Linked DNA regions of Homo sapiens: region 2 is linked to region 1. The links are contacts of gene promoters, found by promoter capture Hi-C in blood cells and fetal thymus (Javierre and others, 2016). All regions are on one chromosome and are shown on one strand. The core of a region is centred on a gene start or on the middle of the fragment in contact, and the rest is flanking DNA. Distances in the headings are between cores, read along the strand shown. Region 1 holds the start of BTBD18 (BTB domain containing 18). Region 2 overlaps P2RX3 (purinergic receptor P2X 3).

Evidence for each region. The method cuts DNA at HindIII sites, captures the fragments that hold promoters and counts their contacts. A CHiCAGO score of 5 or more calls a contact.
Region 2: a contact is called between a fragment that was not itself captured here and the fragment with the promoter of BTBD18 in region 1, in 3 of 17 cell types (M0 macrophages, erythroblasts and M1 macrophages). The highest score is 6.1, in M0 macrophages.

Annotation. Positions count from the first base shown.
Region 1 is chr11:57,749,180-57,754,094 of GRCh38, reverse strand. BTBD18 (BTB domain containing 18) reads left to right here and starts at 2,276. Exons shown (of 3, transcript NM_001145101.3): 1 at 2,276-2,554; 2 at 2,859-3,030. The coding sequence starts at 2,907. The region is part of intron 2 of TMX2-CTNND1 (TMX2-CTNND1 readthrough (NMD candidate)); the gene reads right to left. The HindIII fragment of the contact is 11,151 bases long and covers 1,494-4,915 here.
Region 2 is chr11:57,350,419-57,355,411 of GRCh38, reverse strand. It overlaps P2RX3 (purinergic receptor P2X 3), which reads right to left. Exons shown (of 12, transcript NM_002559.5): 8 at 4,514-4,650. Among named protein-coding and RNA genes, the nearest start is that of P2RX3, 15 kb to the right of the region's middle. The HindIII fragment of the contact is 563 bases long and covers 3,183-3,745 here.

The sequences.
Region 1 (4,915 bases), core at 1,027-3,526:
CGTCACATCCTGGGCAACATTAATTACCTTTTTTTTTTTTTTCTGAGACTGAGTCTTGCTCTGTCACCCAGGCTGGAGTGCAGTGGCGTCATCTCGGCTCAGTGAAACCTCTGCCTCCCGGGTTCAAACGATTCTCCTGCCTCAGCCTCCCGAGTTGCTGGGATTACAGCACGCGCCACCAGGCCCGGCTAATTTTTTGTATTTTTGTAGAGACGGGGTTTCACCATGTTGGCCAGGCTGGTCTCTAACTCCTGACCTCGTGATCCGCCCCCCTCAGCCTCCCAAAGTCCTGGGATTACAAGCGTGAACCACCGCGCCAGGCCTAATTAACATTTTTTTAAAAAATCATCTCTGTAACGATAATGGAGACCGTTCGCGGGGGCGGGGGGGGGGATTTTCTGCAAAACCCCTGGGTCATTAGTTCTCCAAGATTTGGGGTTGGAGTGGAATCAGTGAAGAAACTGAATTCAGAAACTGCCCAAGGACCTTATTCCATAACATCTCTGGTCTTAGGAGATTTCTAAATTAGCCATATGGGGGACCCGGTGTTACCAGAGCCATCCAGAGACTTCCATCACGAAACATGGAGCGCTCCAGGCAGAGCCAAGGGCATCTACTGCCTCTTCAAAGGGAAGACGGACATGACCCTTAACCGCCTTGGCGCCTGCTCTACTACAGCATCCCTACCCTCTTTTTCGGTGTGTTTTCATCAAGTGCTGAGGCAGACGACGGCTTTCACAAGAATTCCTCCCTGACGGGCCCATCCCCCTGCCTCTTGCAGCCCAGCCATCTTCCCTCAGCCCTCAAGTCCCTCGAGACTTAGCCTCCCGCCCAAAGCGCTCCTCCTGTTCTGATTGGTTCTCCCGGGAGCCTTCGGCCAATGGGGATGACGTATGCCGGACGACGTAGGCCCGAGGACTCGGGAGGAGGAGGGGCGTAGGGCTCTGCGACGCGCAGCGCGCTAGGACGGTGGCACGAGGTGTGTGGCGCTGGCCGCGTGGCCTTACAACCCTCGCTATCACTACCACCCAGTGCATGTGGGTGCTGAAGCCCGCAGGGATACAAGGGCGCCAGGGGCTGCCTGCAAAGTCTATGCTGGCGGAGGTGGCCGTGACGGGAAGTCCTGACTTTGGGCCTCCCGGATCCCCACGGTCCATTCCCAGAAACCCTCGCGCCTAGGAGTCTTTCTTCAAAGGAGTTGGGCCAGGGCGCCCAAGCGTGCGGGCCACCCCGCTTTGCAGGGCTCTCCCTGAAGCCCTGCTTTCTCCGCCAACACCGATTCCCTTGCTTCTGGATGGGGAGGTGAAGCACTCAGCCGTTGGCCCACCTGCGCATCTTTGCTCAGCCTCCTGACTCAACGCTGAACATTGAGAGGAAGCAAGGCAGGCTGGACAGAGGACAAGCACAGAGAAGGCAACAGGAGCAAAGTCTACCGAAAAGCTATTTCAAGTTGGGTCTGGAGGCAAGGCCAGGCGATCGTGGATTGAGAAGCTTCCCCAGGGCCCTTGCAACAGCTGCCATCCTCCATCCACATCTCTCTCACTGGGATGGGAATTTTTTTTTTTTTTTTGAGACGGAGTCTCGCTCTGTCGCCCAGGCTGGAGTGCAGTGGCTCTATCTACAACCTCTGCCTCCCAGGTTCAAGCGATTCTCCCACCTCAGCCTCCTGAGTAGCTGAGATTACAGGCGCCTGCCACCATGCCCGGCTAATTTTCGTATTTTTGTAGAGACGGGGAGTCACCATGTTGGCCAGGCTGGTCTCAAACTCCTAACCTCAGGTGATCCACCCGCCTCGGCCTCCCAAAGTGCTGGGATTACAGGCGTGAGCCACCCCGCCCAGCCAAGCCCGCCTTCTCTTAATTTACCTTTTCATTCTTCTTTCCTGATAGTTTTGACGTGAACTGTTCGGACCCTCAGTGCTACCTGATAGAAAACTGCATTCCAGGAAAGGAACACAGCTGTGCAGTGAGTGGGGGGGTTTCGGAGCTAAAAAGCTGGACATAAGCCTGAAGTCAGAATACTCAGTTTGTTTTGGGAGGGGTAAAATGCTTTACTATCCTTGCTGCATTGTTAGCCTGGTAATTAACTATACAAACGTAAAGGCCAAATTCTTTGCCTACTACCAGGGTCAGTCAGGCTCGCTTTGGTCAAGTACACCCAGCCAAGGGTGGCAACGTCCTTGGTTCTGTGAGAGACCTTCCCGCAGAGTCAGAGGCTTCTCTTCTTTATTGTGCACCCTCTGCTGGTTAGTGTGATACAGTGAGCTCAGAGAAAAGGCGCATACGACTTACTAGAGATAATTTTATACCCAGTAATGTTTCCTTAAAAGTGTTAACTTGAAGATTATACCTGTGGAGCTGGGATGTGGTGCTCAGGAAGAATATAAGTAGTCAGCATTGTAGCAGTTGAGTCTCAGTGGTAATGGAAATGAGGAAGGTTGAAGGATAATAATAGTTACCATTTGGGGCTTGGTAGTTATTTTGTGCCAGGCACTCACTGTGCTAAGCAACTTTACCTTCACTGACTCATTTAATCTTTAAAACAACCCTACAAGGTAAGTACTATTATTCTATTTCATGGATAGGAAAGTGAGACTCAGAGAAGTTAGGTCACCTGTGTGAGATTATACAGCCAGGCTAATAAATAGAGCCAAGACCCAAACCTAGGCTTATCTCTGAGCTCCCACATGTAACCACTATGATAATTTTCTTTCTTGAGATATCCTTGGCACAATTTCTGGGCTGATGTTTCCTCAACTCATACTATTATCTCTCACTTTCAAAATTCCCCTGCCATTTCAAAGACAAAAAACAAATTAGATGTAACCATGCCTCTGAAATGTATTATCTCACCTACAGGAGTCTGATCTGTGAAAACCTAGAAGGTTTGTTAAGACTCTTGCCAACATGTGCTCTCCTGCCAGTCCCAAAATCCTATACAGGAACCCCCGGTTCCTCAGGTTAGCTTTTCTGCAGCTTCATCACCAGCAGCAGAGTGATGTGTTCTGTGATGTCCTTCTGCAGGCAGAAGGTAAGAGAGTGGTCGGAATTCAACTGAAAACTCACCATAGAATAAGATAAAATGAGTTCAGAGCCAGAGGGTAAAGGACAAAATCAGCAAAATATTACTGCCTATGACCACTGTAAACTATTTGGTAAAGGGCTGTTTGTTTCTAGGACAATTACTACTGTTTTCAAGAGTGAAATTGTGACTTTGCTTCTTTCTCTTAAATAATGAATCTAATTGTAAAGTTTTATAAGCAGATACATTCTATATAACATGGATAATATTCCAATGGGATGGTTGTGAAGATTAAGAGTTAATGTGGGTAAGCACTTAGAATAGTGCTTTTAATATACTAACCACAATATGTGTTAGATGATACTATTATGTTTTCTTTTTGAGAGTCTCACTCTCTTGCCCAGGCAGGAGTGTGGTGGCACAATCACAGCTACCTGCAACCTCCACCTCCTGGGTTCAAGTGATTCTCATGCCTTAGCTTTCTCAAGTAGCTGAGATTACAGGCATGCGCCACTACGCCCAGCTAACTTTTGTATTTTTAGTAGAGATGAGGTTTTGCCATGATGGCCAGGCTGGTCTCAAACTCCTGGCCTCAAGTGATCCACCCGCCTGGGCTTGCCAAAGTGCTGGGATTATAGGCGTGAGCCACCACGTCCGACCCTTTTCCCATTTTCTTTTTTGTTGTTGTTTTGTTTTTGAGACAGAGTCTCTCTCTGTCTCCCAGGCTGGAGTGCAATGGCACGGTCTCAGCTCACTGCAACCTCCACCTCCCGCGTTCAAGCGATTCTGCCGCCTCAGCCTCCCGAGTAGCTGGGACTACAGGTGCGTGCCACCACACCCGGAAAATTTTTTGTATTTTTAGTAGAGATGGGGTTTCACTATGTTGGCCAGACTGGTCTCGAACTCCTGACCTCATGATTCACCTGCCTCAGCCTCCCAAAGTGCTGGGATTACAGGCGTGAGCCACGTTGCCCGGCCTGCTTAATTTATTTAATCTTCAAATTGATGACTTTTGTTGTTTGTTGCTAGAACTAAAAATGTATAGGTTATTTCCACCCCTTCACTTCACACTGGAAATGTTAATTCAGCATAAAGTAGACCCTGATATATAATGTACAAGGCCCAAGATTAGGAGTCAGAGTTACTAAGTAGATCCTGATATATAAAGGCCCAAGAAATGGGCAGGTAACTTCATCTCTCTGGGGCTCAATGTCTTCATTTATAAAAAATAATTATGATAACCAATATTGTATACCACTCTACAGTTTGTGGATTACATACAGTATAGTGTCTCATTTGATTTTTTTTTTTTTTTTTTTTTTTTTTTTGAGATTCTTGCGCTGTCGCCCAGGCTGAAGTGCAATTGCGCGGTCTCAGCTCACTGCTGTCTCCGCCTTCTGGGTTCAAGCGATTCTCCTCCCTCAGTCTCCTGAGTAGCTGGGATTACAGGGATATGCCACCACACCTGGCTAATTTTTGTATTTTTTAGTAGAGACCGGGTTTCACCATGTTGGCCAGGCTGGTCTTGAACTCCTGACCTCAGGTGATCCACCTGCCTTGGCCTCTCAAAGTGCTGGGATTACAGGTGTGAGCCACACACCCGGCCATGTCTCATCTGATTCTAACAGTCTTGTAAGAGAAGCCTTAGCTATATGGTTCCAATTCTACATATGAATGAGTTGAGGACTACAGTTAAGTGATTTGCCTGCTGCTTCTCTTAGTAAGTGCAGAGTTGAGATTGACTATTTAATTCCAAATAAAGAAAAAAGTATCAGTTGCCTGTTGTATGCTAAACACTGCTACCGTGGTCATACAAAAGTTCCTCTTCTTAAGGAAATCTTATAAGGGGAAGACATTCAAAAATCCAGTGCATTCAAGTAACTGTGCAATATAT
Region 2 (4,993 bases), core at 2,215-4,714, 400 kb after region 1:
CCGAGACTACTGCACTACTGCATTCCAGCCTGGGCAACAGAGCAAAACTCTGTCTCAAAAAAAAAAAAAAAAAAAAAGAAATAAAATATCCTTTAAGAAGAGAACTTGCCTGTGAATTTTCTCATGTCTATGAATACATGCATCTTCCTTGGACAATGGTCCCCATTTTCATCGGGGGCATAAAGCAGTTAGAGACCTCTGAAAGTTAAGGAAGGGCTGTAATTTCACAGATGAAAGTTGTCAGGACTTGTCCTGGACATCTCTGCAGGTGCCCCTCAGGTCCGTGCTCCTCCCTTCCTCGCCCTGCCCTGGGCTGCCTCAGTGGGCCACTTTGCCTCAGCTCTGGCTTCTGGTGGGGCTCTCCTGAGTCACAGCCACATGTCAGGCTGTCCTCTGCTCACAGCTCTGTCCGTCTCCATGTTCCTGTCACTGCTTCCTCTCCTCGCCTCTTCAGACCTGGGTGGTAACCAGTGTCCTGTTTCTGGCCCTGGCACTGCACTATCTGTGTGGTTTCCGTACACCCTGCCCACACCTTTGAAACAGTCCCTTTATTAAACTCTCCTCAGATTACCCAGTTAGAATGTGCCATCTGTTTCCTGCGGGGACCCTGACGGATACAGTATTTTTAATCTGTCATTGCACCATCAATGCCTATACACTCACGCACACACACACACACTGACACACTCACTCTCAGCCTCACACATTCACCCACTAACAAATACACCCACTCTCACGAACTCGCATGTGCACACACACTCACACACACACACAACATCACCTGTTCCCAGGACTTTGGGAAATATAGTACTCTTGTTAAAATCCTGCTCCTGTGAATTGAGGGTCTACCTGGGCCTCAGAAACCTTGCCAACAGAGAAGAGAGCCTCCTGAAGAACTGCAGGGCTCTGCTGAGGGCGCCTTTCACTTGTGCAGCACTGAACTGGTGACTCTCAACAGTTCTTATTTTTAGAAATTGCTGCATTTTGTCTGCTAGAAATCCAGATGACCCCACCAACTGCAATCTCAGTGTGCTTAGAAAGAGGCTTCATAAAAATACTAAGTTAAAGCGGCCCACGGAGTCTTTAGCCACGCAGAACAGACCAAGGAGTAAAAATAAAATGTCTCCACTAAATTTCAGGTAGGGGAAGAACAGAATCTTTAGGGGATCACAAAAATAAAGATTAACTTGCATGGACAGCACCAAGTACACTGGAGAGGATTTAAAGGGAGGCACATTTTGGCTCAATTTGAGGTCACCTTTCCAATGAATGGAGCAGGCCACTTTGCTTGCCACGGAGATCAGATATCCCCCAGTGTCAGGGTGATTACATGGGCCTGTAATCTCTTACATGGGTCCGTAAACTCCTTTAAATCACAAGGGTCACATTAGGAGTTGAGATCCAATGACCTTTGAGGCTACTCTAAGATGCCCCCTTTGGAACTTCCGCTTCCTCATCTGTAAAGTGACCGCCTTACTCTGGGTGACTGCAAGGGGAACTTCAACAGCTATAAATTCTCAAAATCTCTGATTCTGCAGGCAAAGAGCTACAAAAAATAGGGGCGGGGGGGGGGGAGTGACATTTGGAAGGGAGCTGCGAATGTAATTAGTGATGGAAATGTGAATCTCTAGCTGCCTCTGGATGTCTTAGTTAGCAGATTCAAACACGGCCGAATCTTGGCTGAATAATTCCATTCCCTCCAGAGCAAATGGCAACAGTAGGGGTGTTGAAAAATCTGCCTCTGTTGGAGGGAGCAGCAAATGAATTGTTTGGGAGACAAAAGGCCGGGCTATGAATTGTGCTGCCAGCATCTGCTAGTCTTGAAATCTCCTTGGAACTTAGATTCTTTGTTTTTAAGCTGGGATGAAAGTGTCAACCACATAGGCATGCTTTTTTTTCTGAGGATTAACAAGTACAAATGTCCCTAGTCTTCCTGGCTGGGGTGGAGATCATCCAAAGAAATATGTTTTGAATCCAGGCTCCCCCTCTTGCTTGCTTTGTGACTTTGAGAATGTTATTTAACAGTGAGACTCCATCTTCTCCTTTATAAAGTTGGGGGGGATATTGTAGCATCTACTTCGTAGGGCATGCAAGGAATGCTGAGCTGAAGCACACAAAACGTTTTGCACACAGGGTGACTAGTATGGTTTCTACTGATAAGTAGCTTGGTGAGATTCTAAAAAACAGCGTACATCTTACCATATCATAGAAAGTGCACTGTGACCCGCACTGAACCTGGCTTTGTGACCCTTTCTCTCTTATTCAAGCATTCAGAAAGACAGCTTTGCAGCCTCCCACACGTGGGCTCTTAGCTTAGCCTTGGGTGCCAGTAGTTTGAGGTTGCATGAGGGTGGTGGGTGGGCACCCAGGTGAAGGGATGGGAAGGGGCTTGGGCAGAGCCCTCTGCTTGCCACTGATATCAGATGTCCCCCAATGTCAGGGCTATTACTTGGGCCCTCTGGAAACTTTTAAATCACAAGGGTCAAACTAAGCAGCTTTGCCTCCTTCTTCTCTGGCCTGGGGGACTTTGTTGGGGGAGTCAATTATCTGAGATCCTAAGAGGGGGTGGTTTCTCTTAGGCCTCTGGGAATTATGCAGGCAGGGTCTTTGGGGATATTCCGTCCTGCCTCCCCAAATACCCTCCAAGCTTATTTAGGACCAGGTCTATCCCGCATCCTTCTGTGCTCAGGTGGGGAGGGAGGGAAGGCAGCCACAGTGCAATAAATTGGAGATAAAGAACTCCAGACCAATTCTTATTTAGATGAGAGATGCTGTTCTAAAACTGTACGATATCAGTAGTTGGGGGTCTTTATAATATTCACATTCTTCATAAGCTTTTCTGCCAAATGAGTTATTTGGAGGATTAAAGAATTCCCAATGGCCAAAGGGAAGTTATGAAGATGAAAACTTGCATTTTAGATCATGAGAATTTTATTAATATGTTACTATTTTAAGCCACCATACAAATATCCTTTGTATTGATCTCAGTGTGATATACCAACTGAATAAATATGCCAATTTCTGCCAGTGAGCCGCACAGTATTTTTAACCTACTTTAAAATATGTGTTGTTTCCTATGGTTTTTTTAAAGTTTGGAGTTGATGATGAAAGTACTTCAATTTTTAAAGATTCTTCTTTCCAGAGAATATACATGTATATTTTAAACTATTAAATATAAAGCTTAATGGGGTGGGTGATTATTTTTTTAAGTTATAAATTAACAATTTTAAAAGGTGAAATGATTATTTTTGGCTTACGTATGCCATTGTATCAGAGAATACCACCTCAACAAAGGAAATTTGAGTAACATTTATTTGAATATATTCAAATATACATTCTTATGTTCAAATGTAAATGAAATATATTCTTATGTATTTTTTTCCCCTGGTCACTCCCTATTTGTTCTATTTAAGCTGTTTAGTGTATAATGCTGTGTACTTAAACAGGGCCCTGCCAGAAACTTCAGGATCTTCAAAAACTGGGGGAAATCCACAATGTATACATGTATCAAAACATCACATTGTATCCCATATATATGCAATTGTTATTTATCAATTAAAAAGAAAACAAAACCTTTAATAAGTAGTGTTGACCTTGTAGTCTACACTTTGAGAACTGCTAACCTAAGATAACTGAGTACGGTCCTCAGCACGTAGTAGACAATTGGTATGTGTTTAATGGATGAATCAATAAATGAATGATTCAGAAAAAAAAGAAGAGAGAAACAAAACAGAAAGCTGAAGCTTTTCACACATTGGTTAATTGAATCCTGAAGATCACAGTGGTACTATCACAATTTCATAGGTGGGGAAATTAGGATGGGAGAAGACAAATGGCTTGTTCAAGCGCTTTCAGTTGCTTCCAAACAGTTTGTCCTCTAATTCCTCTCTCCCTTTCTTCAAAATGGAAAAACAAAACAAAACAAAACCCGAAAAGATCCCTGAAGTCTCAAAGCCATTGGGATGATATTTAAAGACTGGTCTGAGTTCTTGTTTGGAGAGGCATTGAAGAACCAGAGACAATTATAATTGCTACTGGTGACACACGTTTGCGGAGAGAAATGCAAAGTTGCCATCTTGTAAAATGTAAAATGATACCAGTTATCACCCTTACTTTGTAGAGCGAGAAACCTTAGAAAATTCAGGCCCAGGGCAGGGAATGGGCCTATCTGGAAGTCACTTAAGCACGTCACAGTTTCAGGCCAGTGTTAGGAACAGGCAAAGAATCGCAGAACCCTAGCATTTCAAGAGACCTTGGCCCTCTCTTCTAACTACTGACCTGCAGCAGGAATCCTTGGCGTGGTCCCCTTCAGTGATAAGGAGACACTGTCTCCCAGGACAACCAGCTAGATCCTAATGGCTGTTAGAGAGTCCTTCCTGATTTGAAATGAAACCTGAGGTGGGACTTGGGGCCAGGGGTGGGTGGATGGATGTGGGATCTTGTCTCCCCAATAAACATTGCCGTTAACAGCCCGCACCTTCTTCTCCTGGTGTCCCAGGAGACAGGGAATTACCTGAAGTTGTAGCCTGGGGACACGCTGCTTTTCTCAGAAACGCTGTCGAGCCGGGTGAAGGAGTATTTGGGGATGCACTGGTCCCAGGCCTTGTCCAAGTCGCACACCCAGCCGATCTTAATGCCCAGAACTCCCCCCTGAAGAAACGGGCCGGGTATGAGCTTTCCCCTCGCCCTCTGACTCCCTGCTCTGGGCCAGGGTGGGGGTGGGGTGGAGGTGGTGACAAATGATTTCCTCCCATCCTCCAGGTGGGAGACGGAGGCAGGGAGAACGGAAAGTGACATGTCATATACTGCTCAGTAAAGAAGTGCTGTGGTGGCCGGGTGCGGTGATTCACGCCTGTAATCCCAGCACTTTGGGAGGCCGAGGCGGGCGGATCACGAGGTCAGGAGATCGAGACCATCCTGGCTAACACGGCGAACCCCTGACTCTACTAAAAATACCAAAAATTAGCCGGGCTTGGTCCCAGCTACTCCGGAA